4 separate regions of the Homo sapiens genome follow, and regions 2, 3 and 4 are each linked to region 1. The links are contacts of gene promoters, found by promoter capture Hi-C in blood cells and fetal thymus (Javierre and others, 2016). All regions are on one chromosome and are shown on one strand. Each heading gives the region's core, a stretch centred on a gene start or on the middle of the fragment in contact. The rest is flanking DNA. Distances are from core to core; before and after follow the strand shown.

What was found. Contacts are between HindIII fragments. The CHiCAGO score rates a contact against its expected background, and 5 or more counts as called.
Region 2: the fragment with the promoter of DHX34 here is called in contact with the fragment with the promoter of SAE1 in region 1 in 2 of 17 cell types (neutrophils and erythroblasts); the score reaches 6.1 in neutrophils.
Region 3: a fragment that was not itself captured here is called in contact with the fragment with the promoter of SAE1 in region 1 in 1 of 17 cell types (M2 macrophages); the score reaches 5.7 in M2 macrophages.
Region 4: a contact is called between a fragment that was not itself captured here and the fragment with the promoter of SAE1 in region 1, in 1 of 17 cell types (M1 macrophages). The highest score is 5.4, in M1 macrophages.

What each region holds. Positions count from the first base shown.
Region 1 is chr19:47,129,443-47,132,142 of GRCh38, forward strand. SAE1 (SUMO1 activating enzyme subunit 1) reads left to right here and starts at 1,393. Exons shown (of 9, transcript NM_005500.3): 1 at 1,393-1,586. The coding sequence starts at 1,489. RefSeq lists enhancers at 1,167-1,781, 1,474-1,713. The HindIII fragment of the contact is 6,112 bases long and covers 1-2,700 here.
Region 2 is chr19:47,347,852-47,350,570 of GRCh38, forward strand. It overlaps DHX34 (DExH-box helicase 34), which reads left to right and starts at 1,464. Exons shown (of 17, transcript NM_014681.6): 1 at 1,464-1,501. RefSeq lists an enhancer at 1,304-2,208. The HindIII fragment of the contact is 2,372 bases long and covers 1-1,735 here.
Region 3 is chr19:46,886,644-46,889,465 of GRCh38, forward strand. The region is part of intron 1 of ARHGAP35 (Rho GTPase activating protein 35); the gene reads left to right. Among named protein-coding and RNA genes, the nearest start is that of ARHGAP35, 27 kb to the left of the region's middle. The HindIII fragment of the contact is 4,283 bases long and covers 1-2,822 here.
Region 4 is chr19:46,903,003-46,905,702 of GRCh38, forward strand. The region is part of intron 1 of ARHGAP35 (Rho GTPase activating protein 35); the gene reads left to right. Among named protein-coding and RNA genes, the nearest start is that of ARHGAP35, 43 kb to the left of the region's middle. The HindIII fragment of the contact is 8,700 bases long and covers 1-2,700 here.

The DNA of each region.
Region 1 (2,700 bases), core at 143-2,642:
TGCCACCACGCCCGGCTAATTTTTTAGTATTAGTAGAGATGGGGGTTTCACCATCTTGGCCGGGCTGGTCTCGAACTCCTGACTTCGTGATCTGCCCTCCCTGGCGTCCCAAAGTGCTGGGATTACAGGCATGAGCCACTGTGCCCTGCCAAAAAGCCTATGATTCTAACATCAGAAATCCTTCCACCTCAGCCTCCCACGTAGCTGGGACTATAGACTCAGTACCACCACACCAAGCTAATTTTTGTATTTTTAATAGAGATAGCGTTTCCCTATATTGACCACCTGGGGCCATCCCTGGTTTTTTTTTTTTTTCCCTTCCTTCCTTCCTTTCCCTCTCTCTTTCCCTCCCTCCTTCCTTCCTTTCTTTCTTTCTTTCTTTTTTTTTTTTTTTTACAGAGTCTTGCTCTGTTACCCAGGTTGGAGTGCAGAGGCATGATCTTGGCTTACTACAACCTCCGCCTCCCGGATTCAAGCAATTATCCTACCTCAGCCTTCCAAGTAGCTGGGACTACAAGTGTGAGCCACCATGCCCTGCTAATTTTTTTATTTTTACTAAAGACGGGATTTCACCACATTAGCCAGGCTGGTCTCCAACTCCTGATTTAAAGTAATCTGCCTGCCTTGGCCTTCCGAAGTGCTGAGATTACAGGTGCGAGTCACCGTGCCTGGCCTATTCCTGTTTTCTTAACGCTCCTCTCTCCCACTGGGCCGTGACTGCCTCTAAGGCAGAGATGTGTTCATTTTTATTATTATTGTATGTCCAGGGCTGGGCACAAAGTGCAACACATAGTAGGGACATGAAAGGCTGGGCACAGTGGCTCATGGTTGTAATCCCAGCACTTTGGGAGGCAGAGGCGGGAGGATGGCTTGAGGCCAGGAGTTGGAGACCAGCCTAGGCAACAGAGGGACCCCATCTCTATGAAAAAAAAAAAAAAAAATTGACAGTTCAATGTCACCTCTGATAAGCCTTCCCTGACCACCCCTGTTACTCTGTAGCCCCATGTCCTGCTTTATTTTTCTCCAAAGCATTTATCATCGCTGGGTTTATATTTATTTCTCTTCGGGCTTTTCTCACTGGATCGTAAACTCCATGAGGACAGGGCTTTGTCGATTTCACTCAATACCGTTATTTTACAACATCCCTATTGCTGGGATCTCAGTATGCACTCCTTAAATATTTGCAGAATTTAAGTGCCACATAAGTGACCACGTGGGCAACGCCCTCGGGGCCTTAAGCCGCGCCATTTTTGGGGCTAGGATTGGTTGGACCCTCCGTCACGTGACATGCAGTCGCCGGATCGCCTTTGAGTCTCGTGAGGTACTTTTGGTCCCAGGCTCCGCGGACGAGGTACTGCGCAGGCGTGGGAGGGTCTGCGCATGCGCAGAAGCACTCCGGGCGTGCTGCCGGCGGCGGTAGGTGGCGCGCGGGTCCGGCGGGCGGTTGGCTTGAGCGGGACCGGAGCTGAGGCAGGAAGAGCCGGCGCCATGGTGGAGAAGGAGGAGGCTGGCGGCGGCATTAGCGAGGAGGAGGCGGCACAGTATGACCGGCAGATCCGCCTGTGGGGACTGGAGGCCCAGAAACGGTCAGGGCCGGCGCGGCTTGAGGCCGCTAGGGTCTGGAGGGGGCGTCTATTCTGAGGCGTTTGCGGCCCGGAAGGAGCGGGAAGGTGTGATTTGAAGGGAGGAGGCGGGAATTCTGTGCTCTGGGATCGTCTCTCTCTTGGGGGGACTGGAGGAGTTGATTGGGGATGTTTCTGGAAGGTCTGGGAAGTGGTTGGGAGGGCCGTTCCGAAGGATGGGAGCTCTGAAGGGGGCGTTGGGGAGTCCTGAGAGAGCGGGAGAATTCAAACTCAGGAAATCCGAGGCCCGAAAGCGGTGATTGTGGGGTTTGATCGCGGTTAGGGGATAAGAGGGGCTGGGGATACGTGGAAAGGGTGAGGTGAGGGACGCAGTTCATTCATTCGAGGGTATGGGACCTGGTTCCGTGCTGCACACAGGGGAGACTGGACTGGCCAACCGGACAGACGGGAGCTTACACTCTTGTGGGAGCTCACGGGCGGGCCAGTCTGAGAGAATGCGGGTTTTGAGGAGTTTTGGAGCAAGTTATCTCAAATGGGAATCTTGAGAGGCTCGGAGAGGCTGGAGGGGGACGGCCGTAGGCTCCCGAAAAGGTTGCTTGTGTTTGGTATGGGGCTGTGTCTTGATAGGACAGGAGACGTAGTTTGGGCATTGTGGAGTAGCTTAGGGAATTCTTTTTTTTTTTTTTTTTTTTTTTGAGATAGTCTCTCTCTGTCGCCCAGGCTGGAGGGCAGTGGCGCGATCTCGGCTCACTGCAACCTCTGCCTCCCGGATTCAAGCGATTCTCCTAACTCAGCCTCCCGAGTAGCTGGGATTATAGGGGCCCGCCAGCACGCCCGGCTAATTTTTGTATTTTTAGTAGACACGGGGTTTCGCCATATTGACGAGACTGGTCTCGATCTCCTTACCTCAAGTGATCCACCCGCCTCGGCCTCCTGAAGTGCTGGGATTACAGGAGTGAGCCACCGCGCCAGGACGTCTTTTGTTTTGTGCAGTTGGGTGACCTCGGTTCACTGCAGCCTCTGGCCTCCCGGGTTCAAGACTTCCTCTCACCTCAGTCTTCTGAGTAGCTGGGATTACAGGCTCGCGCCACCATGCCTGGCTAATTTTTGTATTTTT
Region 2 (2,719 bases), core at 214-2,713, 220 kb after region 1:
TCTCCCACGTCTTCCTGATGGTAGTAGATGGTGACTCCATATTTCCAAATGCTCAGGCCAAAAACTTTAGAGTCCTTCTTTTTTTTAGACATAGAACTTTTTTCTGGCCAGGCACGGTGGCTCATGCCTGTAATCCCAGCACTTTGGGAGGCCGAGGTGGGCGGATCACGAGGTCAGGAGATCGAGACCATCCTGGCTAACACAGTGAAACCCCGTCTCTACTAAAAATACAAAAAATTAGCCGGGCGTGGTGGCGGGCGCCTGTAGTCCCAGCTATGCGGGAGGCTCAGGCAGGAGAATGGCGGGAACCTGGGAGGCGGAGCCTGCAGTGGGCCGAGATCGCGCCACCGCACTCCAACCTGGGCGACAGCGAGACTCCGTCTCAGAAAAAAAAAACAACAACACTTTTTTCTTTTTTTGAGACAGTCTGGCTCTGTCACCCAGGCTGGAGTGCGGTGGTACCATCATGGCTCACTGCAGCCTCAGTCTCTCAGCCTCCTAGGTTCAATCGATCCTCCCACCTCAGCCTCTTGAGTAGCTGGGACTACAGGCACACACTACCATATCCGACTAACTTTTGTATTTTTTTGTAGAAACAGGGGTTGGCCATATTGCCCAGGCTGGTGTGGAACGCCTGACCTCAGGTGATCCACCTACCCCGGCCTCTCAAACTGTTGGGATTACAGGCGTGAGCCGCCGTGCCCAGCTGTTTCTTCTTTCAGTTAATAAAAGAGAGGGTGCATTGCTGGCTAATGAGATTGTTTCTATACTTGGGGGTCTTCCTGAATGTGTGTGATTGAGTTTATTGCAGAGAAAGGTAACAGAAAATGGGGTTGTAGAAAGAAAAGAGGTAGAGGCTGAGTGAGATGCCCCACATCTGTAATCTCAGTGCTTTGGGAGGCCAAGGCGGGCGGATCACTTGAGATCAGGAGCTGGAGACCAGCCTGGCCCAAATCGTGAAACCTCGTCTCTACTAAAAATACAAAAATCAGCCAGGTGTAGTGGTGTGCGCCTGTAATCCCAGCTACTCGAGAGGCTGAGGCAGGAGAATGGTTTGAACTTGGGAGGCGGAGATTGCAATGAGGTGAGATAACGCCACTGCACTCTAGCCTGGGAGACAGTGAGACTATGTCTCAAAAGAAAAAAAAAAGTTCCTGGGCCCCAGACCAGCTCTCTCTTTGGGTTAAAACCCCGGCGTCCCGGAGCTGAGGCGCACGTGGCTATGCTTGGGGAGGAGAGGGCGGGGCCGGGGAGGAGGCGCTTGCAAGTCTGTACCGCAATGCCTCTACTGGCCTCTAGAGGGCGCAATCACTCGAGGCTCCGCCCCAAGCGAGGCGGGGCGGAAGCGTGCTGTGCACAGGCGCAAGATGGGTCTTGGGCAGCCCAGAGCTTCCGATTGGCTCTTCTGTGGTGGCGGGGCGGGGTCAGAACGAGATGGCTGTGTGCGCAGGCGCAAGACTAGCGCTCTTGGGACCGGAAGTTAAGGCGTTCGCGGCGTGTGGTAAGTGAGGGGGGCGGGACGGGTGTACCGGGTTGTGGCGGCGATGGCTGTCGGAGTTGGGCCGCTTGGGGGTAGTTTGGGGTGCGAGTCCAGGGGCGAGGGAAGTCTCGAGATGAGGAGAAATGTAGGAGGCAGCCGAAGGGCCGGCAAACGCGGACAGAGATGGCACCTGAGCGTCCCTGGGAGAACCTGGGCGACAGGCCAGAGACCGAAAGAAATGGAGGCACGAAAAGAAGCTTCGAGAAACTGAGGGACTGAAAGACGAGGGTGTTGGGAGAGGAGGGAAGCTGAAAACTAGAGAGCGTGGGCGAGAGTGCCGATGGGTTCCAGCGAGAGTCTTAGAGCCCACGAGGCCGAGAGGCGTGGTCGCCCATGAACTTGGGGAGTGGAGGGAAAAGTCGGAAACTGATCGTGGACACTAGAAACAGAAAAAATGGAATTTAGATGGAGAAACGAGACACTGAATCACGGGGGAGACCGAGAGATACGGAAGGATGGAGACAGTTGAAATAGGAAGAACCCCACAAAAGCTGGAGATAATGGAGAACGATGCTGAGAAATGGAAAAGCGAGGGAGTGGAGCCCGAACCCCTGGATTTGAGTGGCTCATGTAACACTCGGCTACTCACTTAGCCTCTCTATTGCTCAGTAAAATAGGGGGTGATCATAGTGCCTGACAGTCGTGAGAAAAGTGTGTGTGTGTATGTACATAGGTGTGGGATAGGAATAGATCATGCAGATAGGATAGGTCTGTGTGTTAATGTGAGTAAGTAAGCATGAGCTATTACTAAAGCTTCTGATATTGGGAGATAAAGTATTAGATGGGGAAATGGAGAGAGGTGGTGATGGAGAGTGAATACTGGAAGGACAAAAGGGAGGAAAAAAAGATTCAAACAGAAAATGAGAAAGGGCGTGGTGACTCACTCCTGTCATCCACAGCACTTTGGGAGGCTGCGGTGGGAGGATCACTTGAGCTTGGGAGGTCGAGGCTGCTGTACGCCGTGATTGTGCCACTGCACTTCAGGCTGGGTGACAGAGTGAGACCCTGTTTCAAAAAAACAAAAATGAATTTTTTTTTTTTTTTTTTGAGATGGAGTTTCGCTCTTGTTGCCCAGGCTGGAGTGCAGTGGTGCGATCTTGGCTCACTGCAACCTCTGCCTCCTGGGTTCAAGCGAGTCTCCTGCCTCAGCCTCCAGAGTAGCTGGGATTACAGGCAGGT
Region 3 (2,822 bases), core at 224-2,723, 240 kb before region 1:
GGGAGTTTTAGGAGATGGAGGAGGCTTAGAATGCAGGTTATAAATGTAACAGAAAGAAGTATGACTAATACTGGTAAAAGTGTCTTTATAATGATTGTTGCGATATGATTGAATTTCTATCCTAATGCTTAAGAATCCTTAGTGAAAATGTGGGAAAGAGGATGAATCACTGTTTTCTCCCTTCCCAAATCCCAGATGATTTTGCTAGAATTTTAAGGATGGATTGAGTGTTCAGGTGATTTTGTCTTGACTTCTTGGGTTGGTTGGGATCTTTAAAGAGAGAGAGATTAAAAAGGATTTACTACTAGCAAAACTGAAAAAGCAGAAACATGTCTGCTTGAATTTTGAGTTTCTTTTCTCTTTGATAGTGGAAGCAGCATCTTAGGCCAGGTTCATTTTGTAACTGGTGTGGGTGTATGTATGCATGTGTACATCCGTCTCATGTTTGTTAAATTTTCTTGACTCCCTAACAGTTGTTTGTACTCCACATCATCAGTTTTGGTACCTTCTACTCGTTACTGAAAGGATATATTTACCTTCTCAGTGGGTTGGTGAAGATGGGGGGTGGGGGAGCATATATGGAAACTGATGAAAATGATAAAACCGTGGTGCTCCAAAGTAAAGAAAGGAATTTTTAAAAGCCTTTGAATTAACTGGAATGTGGGATCTTGGATTGGATCCTGGTACAGAAAAGGCAATAAATAGAAAAACTGGTAAAATCTGAAAGTCTGTAGTTTAGTTTTTTGTGCTAATTTCTTAGTTTTGACAAATACACCATGGTTATGTGAACATTAGGGGAAGCTGGGTGAAGGGTATGTGAGGACTCTGTAACATCTGCAGCTTTTTTGTATATCTAAAATTATTCCAGAGTAAGAAATTGAAATAGAAGCTGTGACTAGCAAGAGCTTCCAAGGGCTGTGACTTCACCAAGGGAGTGTGTTCATAAGTAGGGCTTCTCTCTAAGGGCCTCTAGAAGTTCTGCTTATCTGCCCACTTCCCTCCTTCAACTCAGTGCTCTAACCATGTGGAATGACTAACTCTCCCCAAAATCCATGCTTCTGGGCCGTTTCATACACTTCTCATCGGGGTATTCTCCTGCTACACCCTCCCCGACCGAACCAAAAACAAAATACATAAAGATCACCTAAAAAACAAAAAATGCAGCTTGACTAATTCCTTTTCATTCTTTAGGTCTCTGGCTTAGATTTTATTTTTTTCAGGAAGCCTTCCCTGACCCACAGAAGTCAGTGTCTTGTCTGAGTTTGCCTGCTGAGTGGAACCCTCATTGTGCTGGTACTTAGTACTTTGCCTTTTTTTTTTTTTTCTGAGACGGAGTCTTGCTCTGTTGCCCAGGCTGGAGTGCAGTGGCACGATCTCGGCTTACTGCAAGCTCCGCCTCCTGGGTTCATGCCATTCTCCTGCCTCAGCCTCCTGAGTAGCTGGGACTACAGGCGCCCGCCACCACGCCTGGCTAATTTTTTTGTATTTTTAGTAGAGACGGGGTTTCACCATGTTAGCCAGGATGGTCTCGATCTCCTGACCTTGTGATCCGCCCACCTCGGCCTCCCAAAGTGCTGGGGTTACAGGCGTAAGCCACCGCACCCGGCCTCAATCAATAATATATATATATATATATATATATATATATATATATATATATATATATATATATATAAAATATTGATTTTATACACACACACACACACACACACACACACACACCCCACAACAAGAAGTAAGGCTCCTGCTCACACCTTCTTAGGCTCCACTGGCAGCAGCTTCCCTCATGCCCTTGGGTAACGGTGGCTGTGGTTTGCTCTGTACCAGCATATATGCTGTAGATGGCCAAATCCCTGCCAGGGAGACAAACTCAGCACCATAAAGGTGAGAAAGCACATTTTGTAAGGCTTATTCTTATATTTCAAGGTCCCAGGGGTCCAATTTAGGAAAATGTTTTGTTTTTTAAAATCTGCTTAGTTATGTAGCATTATCTTTTCCTGTACTATGTGAATTTACAGCTCATTTTACCATAAAAGATAATGTGTAGGTTGTTTAAAACCTGTTCTTTGGCCGGGTGTGGTGGCTTATGCCTGTAATCCCAGCACTTTGGGAGGCTGAGGCGGGCAGATCACTAGGCCAGGAGATCGAGACCATCCTGGCTAACACGGTGAAACTCTGTCTCTACTAAAAATACAAAAAAAAAAAAAAAAAAAAAATTAGGCAGGGGTGGTGGCACGTGCCTGTAGTACCAGCTACTCAGGAGGCTGAGGCAGGAGAATCACTGGGGTGGAGGTTGCAGTGAGCCAAGATCACGCCACTGCACTCCAGCCTGGGTGGCAGAGCGAGACTCCGTCTCAAAACAAAACAAAGCAAAACAAAAAACCCTGTTCTTGGACTGGGCATGGTGGCTCACACCTGTAACCCCTGCACTTTGGGAGGCCGAGGCAGGTGGATCACCCAAGGTCAGGAGTTCGAGACCAGCCTGGCCAACATGATGAAACCCCTGTCTCTACTAAAAATACAAAAAATTAGCCAGGCATGGCCAGGCGCTGTGGCTCACACCTGTAATCCCAGCACTTTGGGAGGCTGAGGTGGGCAGTTCACGAGGTCAGTAGATCAAGACCATCCTGGCCGACATGGTGAAACCCTGTCTCTACTAAAAATACAAAAGTTGGTGTGGTGGCGTGTGCCTGTAGTCCCAGCTACTCAGGAGGCTGAGGCAGGAGAATCCCTTGAACCTGGGAGGTGGAGGTTGCAGTGAGCTAAGATCGCACCACTGCACTCCAGCCTGGGTGACGAGTGAAACTCCATCTCAAAAAAAC
Region 4 (2,700 bases), core at 44-2,543, 230 kb before region 1:
TTGAGGAGCGGTAATAGCCAGAAGGGATCGTGGTGTTAGAGATGGCAAAGCTAAGGCTCTGACAGGCTCTCTTAAGTTAAGGCCTTGACAGTGGGTTTTCTGAGCAGAAAGCAGAAATCACAGATGGATTCAGGGGCCGGGGAGTGGTCTGCGGCATTGGGGAGACACATGCAATAGTGAAGGAACTGGGTTGAGACACCTACTCATCCCCAAACCCTCTCTTCATTCTGCACACAGTAATCATATTAGCTATGGTACAAGTTTCCCATAAGATTTTAACATAGTAAATGCCGTGGGAGTCAGAGTCGGTCTGCTGACAGGGTTTTTATAATGGTGATGTACGTTGTTGTGCATTGATTTTAAGACGATTCAAAAGAAAGTAGCTGCTCTGTGCTCTTCCCAGGGCCATTCAGAGCCAGGGAGTGGGAGGTGAGGCCACGGAGGGAACCACTCAGTGGGTTTATCTTGGGCATTCTGTGCATATGTAACTGAGAAAGGTATGTTGTTACCTAATGTATGCTTTTGATAATTTGGACCAAGAGACATGGTATTCTGAATAGCAGCCAAATATATGAGGTCAAGGTGACTTCCTCTAGCAATTAGGACAGCTGTCATGGAAGAGTAGGCCAGACCTGATTTCCTTCTTAAGTCCGAGGGCTAAACCAGTGATAAGAGATGACTCGTTGATCTTCCTGATATTACTGGCCAAGCACTTTCTAAGGAATGACGATTGATAAGGAAGAACAAACTACTATTTTGGTCTCTTATCTAAAGGAAAATCATGAAGCTAGCACTTTATAGAAAATGCACTTATTCAGTTCCTTGTATGATCACAAATGTTTTCTTAGTTATTTTTGGGCTCCCCAACAGGATATGTTACTTATAGTTTGAAATTCGCCTTTTTTTTTTTCTCTGAAATATATCTTGAAGTGTTGAGTGGTGGCTAGGTGCCATATAGAACATACAAGCAGAATTTTATAGAAGTATACATTTAGTGAGGGGTGGAGATTATTGCTTTAATAAATGGGACTGGCTGGATGTCATTCTTTTTTGTCCCCTTCCCAGTCACTTTGACTCTAGGGTCTTGATTAATGTGATCATCTCTGCAGAGTGTGGAGAGACAGCACTGGGATGGGGGTGGGAAGTGGGCGCAAAGCCTTTCTTAGGGCACAGACAGCTCTGACAGCAGTTTCTGGGACTGCCTTCCCCTCTCCCCTTCAGCTTCCGCATCTGTGACGTGAGGGAGCTGGCTGCCAGCATTCCCAGCTTGGCCTGCCTTCCAGTGGCTTTCATTCAGAGACAGCAGATCATGTTCATCTGGAAGTTTTCTTAGTTGTTCATCTCAAGAAGAATCTTAGGAATTTTTTTTCAAATCAGCCAGTTTTCCTCAGATTTTGCTTCTTCTTTATCTGCCCTGTTCCTTTGGCTAATCTTCTGTCAGCGAGACACAGGGTCATCAGTTTAAGTATGGGAAGGAAATTATGGCCTTGAGCACAGGCAGAAAGCATCTGGCTCCCAGGCGCTTCCTGTGAGCCACCATGAAATTACAAAGACTGGGCCTGACAAGGCCTTTCAAAGGAGCATCTCACACCACCACTGTGTCAGCATTTCCATGATTCCATCGTAAAGCAGTTGTTTTTCCTGATGCTTATTATGACCAGGTTGGAGTTGGCCTTTACATGGGAAGCGTTTATCCAGTGGATGAGAGTGAAACAGCAGGACAGAGGTGGCGGGGGAGAGGGCTCAGATTGCTCTCGGAATTCCCTTCTCCAGCCCGGTCCTGACCAAGCCATTCTTGCTCAGAAGCCTGTGGTTCCTCAGAGGATGAAGTCCAGACTGTCTTTAGCGTGTCAGGACCCTCCACAGACTTGCCCCCAGCGTCTCCCACCATATGTGCCTATGCTCCGCGTTCCTGTTCTCCAGCCAGGGCAGTGCGGGGGAGTGGAGGGACGAGAGCTGGGGGTGGTGTCAGGAGACCTGGGTTCTGGACTGGGGTTCCTGTCTATCTAGCTGAGTTATTTCATTTCTCTCTGTCTCAGTAGTTACTAATCTGGATAGGCTTACCAAATGAGAGGAGGAGAAGAAAAGGTTTAGGAGACAGATTACAAGGCTCTTTCTGATTCTTGTCTCCTGGCCTAGCTTGGAAATTAGAACACCAAATGTCTGAGCATTAAATGGGTTTTTGAACCATGAAGTTTTTTGAACTTCTTAAAAACAAAAACAAACAAAAAGAAAACACTGTAGGTTGGGCGTGGTGGCTCACGCCTATAATCTCAGCACTTTGGGAGGCTGAGGCGGGTGGATCAGGAGATCGAGGCCAGCCTGGCCAAGACTGTGAAACCTCATCTCCACTAAAAGTAGAACTTAAACTTTTTTTTTTTTTTTTTTTAATAGATGGAGTCTCATTCTGTCACCTAGGCTGGAGTGCAGTGGCGCGATCTTGGCTCACTGCCACCTCTGCCGCCGGGGTTCAAGAGACTCTCCTGCCTCAGCCTCCCGAGTAGTTGGGACTACAGGCGCCTGCCACCGCGCCCAGCTAATTTTTGTATTCCACCCCCCCCCCCCAAGACAGAGTCTTACTCTGTCACCCAGGCTGGAGTGCAATGGCGCGATCTCAGCTCACTGCAACCTCCACCTCCCAGGTTCAAACGATTCTGGTGCCTCAGCTTCCTAAGTAGCTGGGACTACAGGCACATGCCA